Linked DNA regions of Homo sapiens: region 1 is linked to region 2. The links are contacts of gene promoters, found by promoter capture Hi-C in blood cells and fetal thymus (Javierre and others, 2016). All regions are on one chromosome and are shown on one strand. Each heading gives the region's core, a stretch centred on a gene start or on the middle of the fragment in contact. The rest is flanking DNA. Distances are from core to core; before and after follow the strand shown.

Region 1 (5,384 bases), core at 341-2,840, 1.3 Mb after region 2:
CCCTTTCTCTCAGAACAACGTTCATTAAACATATTTGGTTAAAAATACGTGGAACTCTAATAAGTTTTACTTTAGATAACACAGAAAATCACACAGGGTCTGCATACTTCATGCTAAAGAGCCTTGGGGTTTAGTGAAGAGGAGAACAGAAAATGTCTCTGACTTTGGCTTTGGTCTGATTTCCTCTGATCACTAATTTCCTAGCCCACATGTCTAGGCTAGGACACCATTGTCTGAGAGAGACAACTTCTCTTGTTGTTGTTCCTACAGACTATCCTTGTTGCACGAAGCACAGGATAATCTGTCACCCTGGCTTTTTGGCTTCCTGCTTCAGCACCACCTCTCCTTGAAATGCTCATGTATGGATATGGGTTCACGGGTTCCATCTAGCGGCCACTACTCAAATAATTTGAAAGTCAAGAACATTTCATAGATGACATTGACCTCACCTTTGCTTTGACGTACGGGGAAATTTAGATCTCAAGAGGTGAAATGAAGCATCGTAGGCACATGGCTAGTTAGTGGTAGAACTGGGGCCATCACCAGCCTCCTGACTCCAGCCCAGTTTCTCAGCCACAACAAGGTTTTTTTTTTTTTTTTTCCACAACCTTGATATTCTTCCTCCTACAAAATACTTAACTCTCCAGAGACTTAAACATCTTGATTCAACTCTGATACAAAAATAAGCAGAAAACATAACAACTGAAATGATAACTATAGCAATAAAAATATTATAGATTTCCATCGTATGTACTGTAACAATAAGATTCAAATGAATGAAAGATATAGCAGATTTCAGTATGGGGGAGTTAATGGAGGAAGATGGAACTCCATTACCTTCTTGAATGTGAAAGAGTAGATAAATTGGAGGAAGCTCCTAGGGGAGGGCATTTCAGGAACATGGAAAAGCATGAAAAAAATGTCTTCATGTGATGAAGAGGTTGGTTGTATTCCCTAGGCAAATATTAGGAATTAAAAAACAATTATTTCATGTTATTTAACCTATTAATAGATTTTTAAAGTGTACAACATAGTAAATTTCGACCTATTTTACACCAAAGAGGCAACTGACACAATCAAGATAATGAACATGGCTGGGCAAGGTGGCTCACGCCTGTAATCCCAGTGCTTTGGGAGTCATAAGTGGGAGGATTTCCTTGAGACCAGGAGTTCAAGACCAGCCCCAGGCAACATAGTGAGACCTCATCTCCACCAAAAGAAAAAAAACAGCCAGGCATGGTGGGCTGAGCCTGTAGTCCCAGTTGCTTGGCAGGAAGATCCCGTGGGCCCTGGAGTTTGAGGATGCAGTGAGCTATGAGCTGGGTGACAGAGCATGACCCTGTCTCTAAAAAAGCAAAAAAAAAAAAAGGATATTCATATCCTCCCCACCAAGTTTCCTTGTTGTGCCCCCTTCGTAATCCTGACTCCTCTCTCCTCTGGCCCATCCCACTCAGACAACCAGTGACCTGCTTTCCGTCACTTTGGATGAGTTTGCATTTTCTAGGATACTTGTACATTTTTTTCATTTTGAAACAATTTCAAACTTATGGAAAAGTTGCAGGTGTAGTAGCACAAGAGCTTCCGTACACCTTTCATCCGGATTCCCCAGTTGTTAACATTTTACCATGTTTGTCTTCTTATTCTATCTACACATTTATACGTATTATTGCTCTTAAATTTTTCTGAACCAGGTGAGAACAGTTGCAAATATGATGCCCCATGAGCCTTTACTACTTTGGCATGTATTTCCTTAAAATGAGGACATTTCTATAACCAGAGTGCATCCATCAAGATCGGGACATTACATGGGGTGCGGTGGCACATGCCTGTAATTCCAGGTACTTGAGAGGCTGAGACAGGAGAATCGCTTGAACCCAGGAGGTGGAGGTTGCAGTGAGCCGGGATTGTACCACTGCACTCCAGTCTGGATGACAGGGACTCTGTTTCAAAAAAAAAAAAAAAAAAAAAAAAAAAGAGAAAGGAAAAAGAAATGAAAAAGATCAGGAATTTAACATTGATGTAATAAAGCCACAATCCGTAGACTCCATTCAGATTTCACCAATTTTACAATAACGTTCTTTATAATTCCAGAATCCAACCCAGGATCATGTGTTGTGTTTAGTCATTATATCTCTGTTAGTCTCCCTTAATCAGGAACATTTTCTCATTCTTTCCTTGTTTTTCATAACCTGGGTGTTTTTAAAGAGAACAGGCTAATTACTTCGTAGAATGTCCCTCAGTTTGGGTTTGTCTGATGTTACCTTATTGTCAGATTTGGGTGGTGCGTTTTTGGCAGGACGTTCACAGAAATGATGCTGTGTTTTCTCAGTTTGTTAGAGTAACTTAATATAGATTTATCCTGTTTATAGACAACATTATATGTTAGCACTCGATTAAGATGATATTGGCTAGGTTTCTATGCTATAGAGCTAACTAGTAAGTAATTTGTATTTCTAAACTACTAATAAGCACTAAATATTTTGGGGGAGATACTTTGAGATTGTATCCATTTCCTCATCAAATTTTCACCTACTAGCTTTTCCATCCAATGATGATTCTATCTAAATTAGTTATAACTATAATGGTTGCAAAATAATAATTTTCTGGCTGGGTGTGGTGGCTCATGCCTATTATCCCAGCACTTTGGGAGGCTGAGGTGGATTGTTTGAGCCCAGGAGTTGAGACCAGCCTGGGCAACATGATGAAACCTCATTTCTACAAAAAATACAAAAATAGCCGTGTGGTGGCACACGCCTGAAGTCCCAGCTACTTGGGAGGCTGAGGTGGGAGAATTGCTTGAGCCCAGCAGGTTGAGGCTGCAGTGAACTGTGACTGCACCACTGCACTCCAACCTGGGTGACAGAGCAAGACCCTGTCTCAAAATAATAACAATTTTCTAATTCCATAATTATATTTACATTGATTAGTTGGCATTTACTATAAGTTAGAGCTCTCTCTTCTCTCTCATATTTATTCATTCATGTATTATATAAGTATGGATTCATGAGATTTGATTTTTCAATGAATTATAATCAGTTACTATCATTTTTTATTTTGATCCACAAAATGACCTAGATGTGGACAACTGGAGCCCCATGAAGTTGGCTCCTGTGTTTATTTATTTATTTATTTATTTTGAGAGGAAGTCTCACTCTATTGCCCAGGCTGGAGCACAATGGTGTGATCTCGGCTCACTGCAAGCTCCACCTCCTGGGTTCACGCTATTGTCCTGTCTCAGCCTCCCGAGTAGCTGGGACTACAGGCGCCCGCCACCACACCTGGCTAATTTTTTTGTATTGTCAGTAGAGATGGGACTTCACCGTGTTACCCAGGATGGTCTGGATCTCCTGACCTTGTGATCCACCCGCCTTGGCCTCCCAAAGTGCTGGGATTACAGGCGTGAGCCACTCCTGTGTCCTTTAGACATGTCCTCATAATTATCTGAGGGCTTCCTTACTTTCAGTACAATAGAGTTCCAGGGTCATCTTGTTCTTTCCCTGCCCCAGCCCTGGTTCCTTTTAGTGGAAAAAGGTATTTAGAAACTGAGATCTAAATGCTAGGATGCTCATTGCAACTGGGGTGTCATTGCTCCTGGACTAGGAAATATAACACATTCATACATTTCTACTTCTCAATTTACCTGTCTATCCCTACCTATCTATCATCTGTCACATTCCTATCTTTAAAATCCATAACTTCGGACTAATGCCTTCAATTCCAATCCAGTATCACATTTTCCCCTTTGCATATTTGTAACTCCTTTCTTCAACAGTGAGAAATTGCATTCCCAGTCTCCTTGATACGTTGACTCATTCACTTGATCCTCCTGCATGTAAGCAATCTCCCAGCTGGGCCAGCCTTGTCCCCTTAGCCCCAGTGCCACCCATCACACCATTTGAGTGTTCCAACTCCAAAAGAAGGGAAGGCGAAATAGGAAATTATTTTTGCTCTTCTCTTCCCTATTCCTTATGTGTATATTATTATTTTCCCTTTTGGATATTGCTCACATCCATTTTCTCCTCTTCAGCTTTACTTCTGTGACTAGAATTCAGGCTTGAACAGGTGCTTCTGGTTTTGTTCCTGGTAATCTGTCCTGCACATAGCAGCCCAGATGATCTTTCACAACAAGAATATGACTATGTTATTTCTCTTTAAAGTCTCCAATGGCTCGTCATTTTCTACAAGGTTAAGTAAGCTCTCTAACTTACCCTGACCTGGCCTCTGTCCATACCTCCATTCTCATATTCATGCCTTCCTCCCTTGGACTATCAGTAGAAGTGAATTTTTGTAGTTGTCTGCATATACCATGTTCCATCACTACCATTTCAGTATGATGCTCCCTTGATTTATGAACCTCTTTCCCCAGTGCACCCTTAGAAATCCTGCTCAGGTGTCACTGTATCTAAGAAGCTTTTTTTGACACTTCTTTCCAACCATTAGTTGTTAATTATCCATACTAATTGGATTTCTTATACATAGTTTTATTATTGCCTATGTCACTCTCCACTATATTTGTTTACATGTCTGTCTTCTCTACTAGGTAACCAATTCAGAGGACAGGAATTGATTTTTGCCATTATAGTTTCAGTATCTAGCACAGTTTCTGCCATGTGTTATACACTTAATAAATACTTATTGAGGCTGGGCGCGGTGGCTCACGCCTGTAATCCCAGCACTTTGGGAGGCCGAGGTGGGTGGATCATGAGGTCAGGAGTTCGAGACCAGCCTGACGAACAATGGTGAAACCCTGTCTCTACTAAGAAAAATACAAAAATTAGCTGGGCATGGTGGCACTCACCTGTAATCCCAGCTGCTCAGGAGGCTGAAGCAGGAGAATCGCTTGAACCCGGGAGGCGGAGGTGCAGTGAGCCCAGGTGGAGTGATGATCGCGCCTCATCACTCCAGCCTGGGCGACAGAGCAAGACTCTGTCTGAAACAAAACAAAACAAAACACAACAAAAACTTATTGAACTGAAACATATATGTATGTGTCTGTGTGTATTTCTTTTTCTTTTCTTTTTGCCTTGGAAGAATGTGGAGAAACATCTGAAAAAGGAGCTGTTTTAAGATACCCAGTTTGTGATCATTTATTATGGCAGCCAAAGCAAATAAATACAGCATCAAGCTTATCAGAATCCACTTGCATCATGCTTGCTAATATCCCCATTGTCAAAGCTAGTCACAAGGCTAAGCCTGCTGTCACCATGAGAGGGGACTATACAAGGGCGTGCATTCTGAGAGGTGTGGTTCATTGGAGAAATCAAAGTAACAGTGTGCAGTGAGATTTATTAGATCATTTCATGTATCATAATAAAAGACATTGAATTTCTGATGAAGGATTTCGAATGTGGTAAAATAATTCAGTGGGAACCCAACGCAGTACC
Region 2 (5,488 bases), core at 452-2,951:
GTAAAGTTGGTACTTTAGGAATCTAAGAGCAGGACTTTACTTCTACTCCTATTAAAGTTCATCCTGTTACAGCCAGATGTGGTGGCTCACACCTGTAATCCCAGCACTTTGGGAGGCCAAGGCAGGTAGATCACTTGAGGTCAGGAGTTCGAGACCAGCCTGGCCAACATGCTGAAACCCCATCTCTACTAAAAATACAAAATTAGCCGGACATGGTGATGCGCCTGTAATCCATTACTTGGGAGGCTGAGGCGGGAGAGTTGCTTGAACCTGGAAGGCAGAGGTTGCAGTGAGCCAAGACCGCACCACTGCACTCCAGCCTGGGCGACAGAGCGAAACTCTATCTCAAAAAAAACTCCATCTTAAAAAAAAGATCTCAAAAAGAAAAAAGTTCATCCCATTAGTTTCAGTTCCAGTAGCCATCAATCTGCTTTAACCACTGTTTTACAAATCTGATAAACATGGCTCACAGCAAGAATTCTCAACTCCTCAAGACACACATATGTGTTCCAGGCATCCTTCCCTAAGTGTGCGCCCACTGATGCATAAAGTCTACCAAGATTGTCGTTAATATACTTTAACTTTAACCTAGGGCTTCCTTAAAGTCAGCATCTGTGGCAGAGAACAAACCCTTTCAGCTATTAAGACAGAAAGTAAGCTCAGTAAAATTGGAGAATGACATTTTCAAATACCATTACCCAAACTTTGTACCTTTAGTGACCATATCCTTATTTCACTTGAAGTATGCAAGCAACAGCTTTCAAAAGGGGTATCTAATTGAGATAACTTTATATTAAATCTGTACGAAGTCATACAACCTACCTTGTAAGGCCAAAGGAATAGCTTCAATCTGGATCTTGGTGGGTTTTGTCCATCCCAACTGGTCACAAGCTTCACACAACACATCTGTCACACCCTTGGAATTCAGAAAAATATACCTTAGCCAAGAACAGCACACCCCTACCTCCCTCCTACTTAACTGACTGTCAGACCCATCATGTACAACCATTGTATTTGATTTAAAAGGTATTTACTGTGCATCTCAGAGCCTACTCTTTAACTATACCATGAGACAGTAGCTCAAGACTTAACGAACACTTTCTGCTCACCAAGGCCAAGGCCAGGTGCTTTACATGTATCATCTCATTTAATCGTCACAACAATTCTGCGAGGTAAGTACTTATTACTATCCCCAATTTACAGATGTGGAAAGAGAAACACAGAGAGGTAACAACTTGTCCTCAGTAAGAGACTGTGTCAAAATTCAAATCTGGTTGGTTCATCTGACTCCAAAGCTCCAGTTATAAAGAGACCAATTCCATTCCCCATATGTACAACCTCCTGGATGCACATACAAACGTTGCCACACTAAAGTGGCGAATAGGGCAAATAGGGGGTCTCAGGGCCCAGCAGCCCTCCCACCACCCAAACTCAGAGCACGTCCGAAACCCAGCCCTCTGAAATTCTGGGGAAAACCCAAGCTAGGCCCCAAGATGCTTTTGTACACTATCAGAGCGGGATCTAAGGTACCTGGGGTCTCCCTGAGCCTAGCACCAGAGTACATAAAAGAAGCCAGCGTCATCCATTCTCACCAGGTCTTTAAATGTTTTAGTTTCCTCCTCTTCCACAATCGGCTGGGACGCTTCGGTCGGAGAATCGTGTTCCTCGGGTGCCGCCATCTTGTGTGAGGTCTCCGGAAGTGGGTCTGCGGCGCGCGGGATGCTGGGAAATGTAGTTTTAGTTCTCCCCGGACGACGTGCTCTGCGCGCCCCCTGCGGGCTTGCCGGGGATTGCACCCGTCCGCTAGGCAGGTGGGGCCCAGTGAATATGGGCGCGTAGGCTTGCGGAATAGATCCGAGTGCAGAAGGGGCTGATCACCAGGGACTCCAGTTGACCTTTAGGTCCCTTTTAAAGAGCCTTCCCTACGTGTGTCGCCAGTTATGTTCCCCGCTTTTCTAACCATAGAGTTTGGAACGGATTGATATTACAATACTATTTTTTTATTATGTCATTACTTTATTCAATAATGTTGAGAACCTACCATTTGCTAAGGCTATGCTAGATGGCTGGTGAATAGGACAGCGACCCCTGCCCTCGTGAAGAAAAAGAAGACAGATCATAAATAAGCTATCACAGAGCATTTCAAATTGTGAAAAGTAGCTGGGTGTGCTCACGCCTGTAACCCCAGCACTGTGGGAGGACGAGGCGGGCGGATCACTTGAGCCCAGGAGTTCGAGACCAGCCTGGGCAACGTGGCGAAACCCTGTGTCTGCAAAATGCAAAAATCAGTCAGGCATGCATGGTGGCATGCGCCTGTAATCCCAGCTATTCAGGGGGCTGAGGTTGAGGGATCAGTTGACCCCGGAAGTTGAGGCTGCAGTGAGTGGAGATGGTGCTACTGTACTCCAGCCTGGGCAACAGAGTGAAACCCTGTTCACATAAAAATTACAGAGTAACCTGGGGAGGGTGGGTTGTGGGGATAACTGTGAGATTGGGAAGGCCTCTCTGAGACAGTGATATTTGAGTTAAGACCTCACTGTTGAGCAGGAGAAAACGCTTTAAGATCCCAGGAGATAATCATTCCAGAGTGAGAGAATTCCAAGTACCAAGACTGTGAAGCTACTAAGGCTATTCTGGAAAGCAGCAAATTCAGAGCTGTATGTTGCATGCCCCATGGCCAGCGAGTGCCCTCCTGTGGCCTGTCACTTGGGTCTCACACTGCGCAGGGTGCTCGTTGCAGTTTTATTCCTGAGGATGGGAAGTTGGGGGCAATCTGGTGTCCGTCACTGGGAAAATGCATAGTTAAAATGTGAACATGGTGTCTACAAACATGCCCTTAACAATATGATTAGATCTGAAAAACCTAGTGCTTAGTGAGAAAAGCATAAAATATATCAAGTATATTAAAATATAGGCCCACAGATATCACATTCTGCTAAAACACATCCAACAGAAGATACACTTGAAATATTTTAGAATGGTTGCCTGCAGAGGGAGAAGAATTAGAATAAAACTGGGAATTGGGAATAAAAGAATTAAGTGTATAAGACAATAGGCCGGCCGCGGTGGCTCACACCTGTATCTTAGCACTTTGGGAGGCCAAGGCAGATGGATCACTTGAAGTCAAGAGTTCGAGACCAGCCTGGTCAACATAGTGAAATCCAGTCTCTACTAAAAACACAAAAATTAGCCAGGCATGGTGGCCTGTGCCTGTAATCCCAGCTACTCGGGGGGCTGGGGCAGGAGAATTGCTTGAACCCCGGAGGCGGAGGTTGCAGTGAGCTGAGATCATGCCATTGCACTCCAGCCTGAGTGACAGCGCAAGACTCCGTCTCAAAAAAAAAAAAAAAAGGATAATAAATACACAAAGCAAGAGAGGAGACTTGTGATGCCAGTGTGCTTGACCTGAGAATTGTGAGGAACTCAACTCAATGTGCCTGCCGACCTCCCCACCACCACAACTAAAAAAGGGCCCTGATTTAGGCATCACAGCAGTGTCTCAACAACAAAAAGGGTAGGATGTGGTCAGAGAATTGGGCTCAGCTCAGACTCTGCAGGACCCTGTTGTAAAAGGTCTGGGGTTTTGGATGTTATCCTAAATGCAGAAGGAAGCCACTGGGGGTTTAGAGCAGGGAAGAGACATGATCTACACATTTAAAATATTACTCTAACTCTATATGGAGATAGGCTGTAGAAAGAGTGAGAAAAGGAGACCATCTAAGACAGCGGTCCCCAACCTTTTTGGCACTAAGGACTGGTTTCGTGGAAGACATTTTTTGCACAGAATTGGGGCGGGGATGGTTTCAGGATGATTCAAGCACATTACATTTATTGTGCAGTTTATTTCTATTATTATTACATTGTAATATATAATGAAATAATTGTACAACTTGCCATAATGTGGAATCAGTGATAGCCCTGAGCTTGTTCTCCTGCAACTAGATGGTTCCATGTGGGGGTAATGGGAGACAGTGACAGATCACCAGGCATTAGATTCTCATAAGAACCACGCAACCTAGATCCCTTGCAATAGGGATTGTGCTCCCAAGCGAATCTAATGCCGCAGCTGATTTACCAGGAGGCGGAGCTCAGGTAGTAATGCTTGCTCACCTGCTACTCACCTCCTGCTGTGCAACTCAGCTCCTAACGGGCCACGGACTGGCACCAGTCCATGGCCCAGAGGCTGGGGACCCCTGATCTATGTTGGGAAAAGGGCTTGTGGGGTGCCTGCATAAACGGGCCATAAAAATATGGGACAATAAGTTGTGGCAAGTCACAAAAGGCCTCTGAGGAGGAAAGCCTTCTTATCGCCATTATGTTCCCATGCTCTGAGCGCAACCTGCTCTCTTATCTATAAACACTGTGTTCAAGGAGAAAGACACTCCTTTGAAGCATTGAAATGTGGACAGACGTTCAGGCTCCTAGTTAAGCCCACTCCCACTAGCTACTCTTCGATAAGTTAAAGATATGCTGTTTGAGAACAAAGGAGACTCATTTAAACAGCCATTGCTATAGATTACGCCTATGACATACTGCCTCCCTTTCACTGTTTCACCCTAAACATCTGCTTCTTAGATCTAAGGGATTGTACTCAATAAATAGAGTGAAGACCAGAACTCTGGGCCTTTTGCAGCCTCCATTTTGCAATTGGCCCCCCGGCCCCCACTCTTTATGCACTCTTAACCTGTCTCTTCTCATTCCTTTGTTGCCACCGGACTTTGGGTACCCTACGGGTGGTGTTGAGGCTGGTCCCCAACAATCTAAGAGACAAGGGATGATCTTCATACCCCTGGCTCTAAGCACAGGCCCTGGCAAGAAGTGGATGCTCTGGAAATGCTGCCTGGCTGAAGTAAAACAGCAAAGCATTGGGATCAGGAACCATAGCAGACCAGAGAGGACTTCACTCTTTGTTTTTTAGGGAGTGAGGTTTTTCCATATTTAAGATTACATTCCTGGCCGGGCACAGTGGCTCACACCTATAATCCCAGCACTTTGGGATGCCAAGGCAGGTGGATCATTTGAGGTCAGGAGTTCAAGACCAGCCTAGCCAACATGGTGAAATCCTGTCTCTACTAAAAATACAAAAATTAGCCAGGCATAATTGCGGACACCTGTAATCCCAGCTACTTTGGAGGCTGAGGTAGGAGAATAGCTTGAACCTGGGAGGCAGAGGTTGCAGTGAGTCGAGGTCGTGCCACTGCACACCAGCCTGGGCAACAGAGTGAGACTCTGTCTAAAATATATATTTTTTAATTTTATATATATATGTATATATATATATATATACACATATATATGTAGTAAAAAAAGATTACACTGCTGCAGAATAGGCTGGGGACTTTGGTCTTTTTACATTAGTTCACTCCAAGTTACAGGAAAGGAGAGAAAATACACACTGCATAAGACAACAGGTCACCCTGAAATTGATTCTATTGGGCAGTCACAGGCATACAATTATGCTAGCCCAGTCTAAGGCATTCCATCTCTC

Evidence for each region. Contacts are between HindIII fragments. The CHiCAGO score rates a contact against its expected background, and 5 or more counts as called.
Region 1: a fragment that was not itself captured here is called in contact with the fragment with the promoter of DDX47 in region 2 in 1 of 17 cell types (non-activated CD4 T cells); the score reaches 5.9 in non-activated CD4 T cells.

Annotation. Positions count from the first base shown.
Region 1 is chr12:11,549,136-11,554,519 of GRCh38, reverse strand. It overlaps LINC01252 (long intergenic non-protein coding RNA 1252), which reads right to left. Exons shown (of 8, transcript NR_033890.1): 2 at 4,799-4,930; 3 at 1,827-1,940; 4 at 838-954; 5 at 450-671. The region is part of intron 2 of LOC124902877 (a long non-coding RNA gene); the gene reads left to right. Among named protein-coding and RNA genes, the nearest start is that of LINC01252, 3.8 kb to the right of the region's middle. The HindIII fragment of the contact is 5,644 bases long and covers 1-4,412 here.
Region 2 is chr12:12,809,559-12,815,046 of GRCh38, reverse strand. DDX47 (DEAD-box helicase 47) reads right to left here and starts at 1,701. Exons shown (of 12, transcript NM_016355.4): 1 at 1,593-1,701; 2 at 823-916. The coding sequence starts at 1,679. RefSeq lists an enhancer at 1,565-1,874. The HindIII fragment of the contact is 15,992 bases long and covers 894-5,488 here.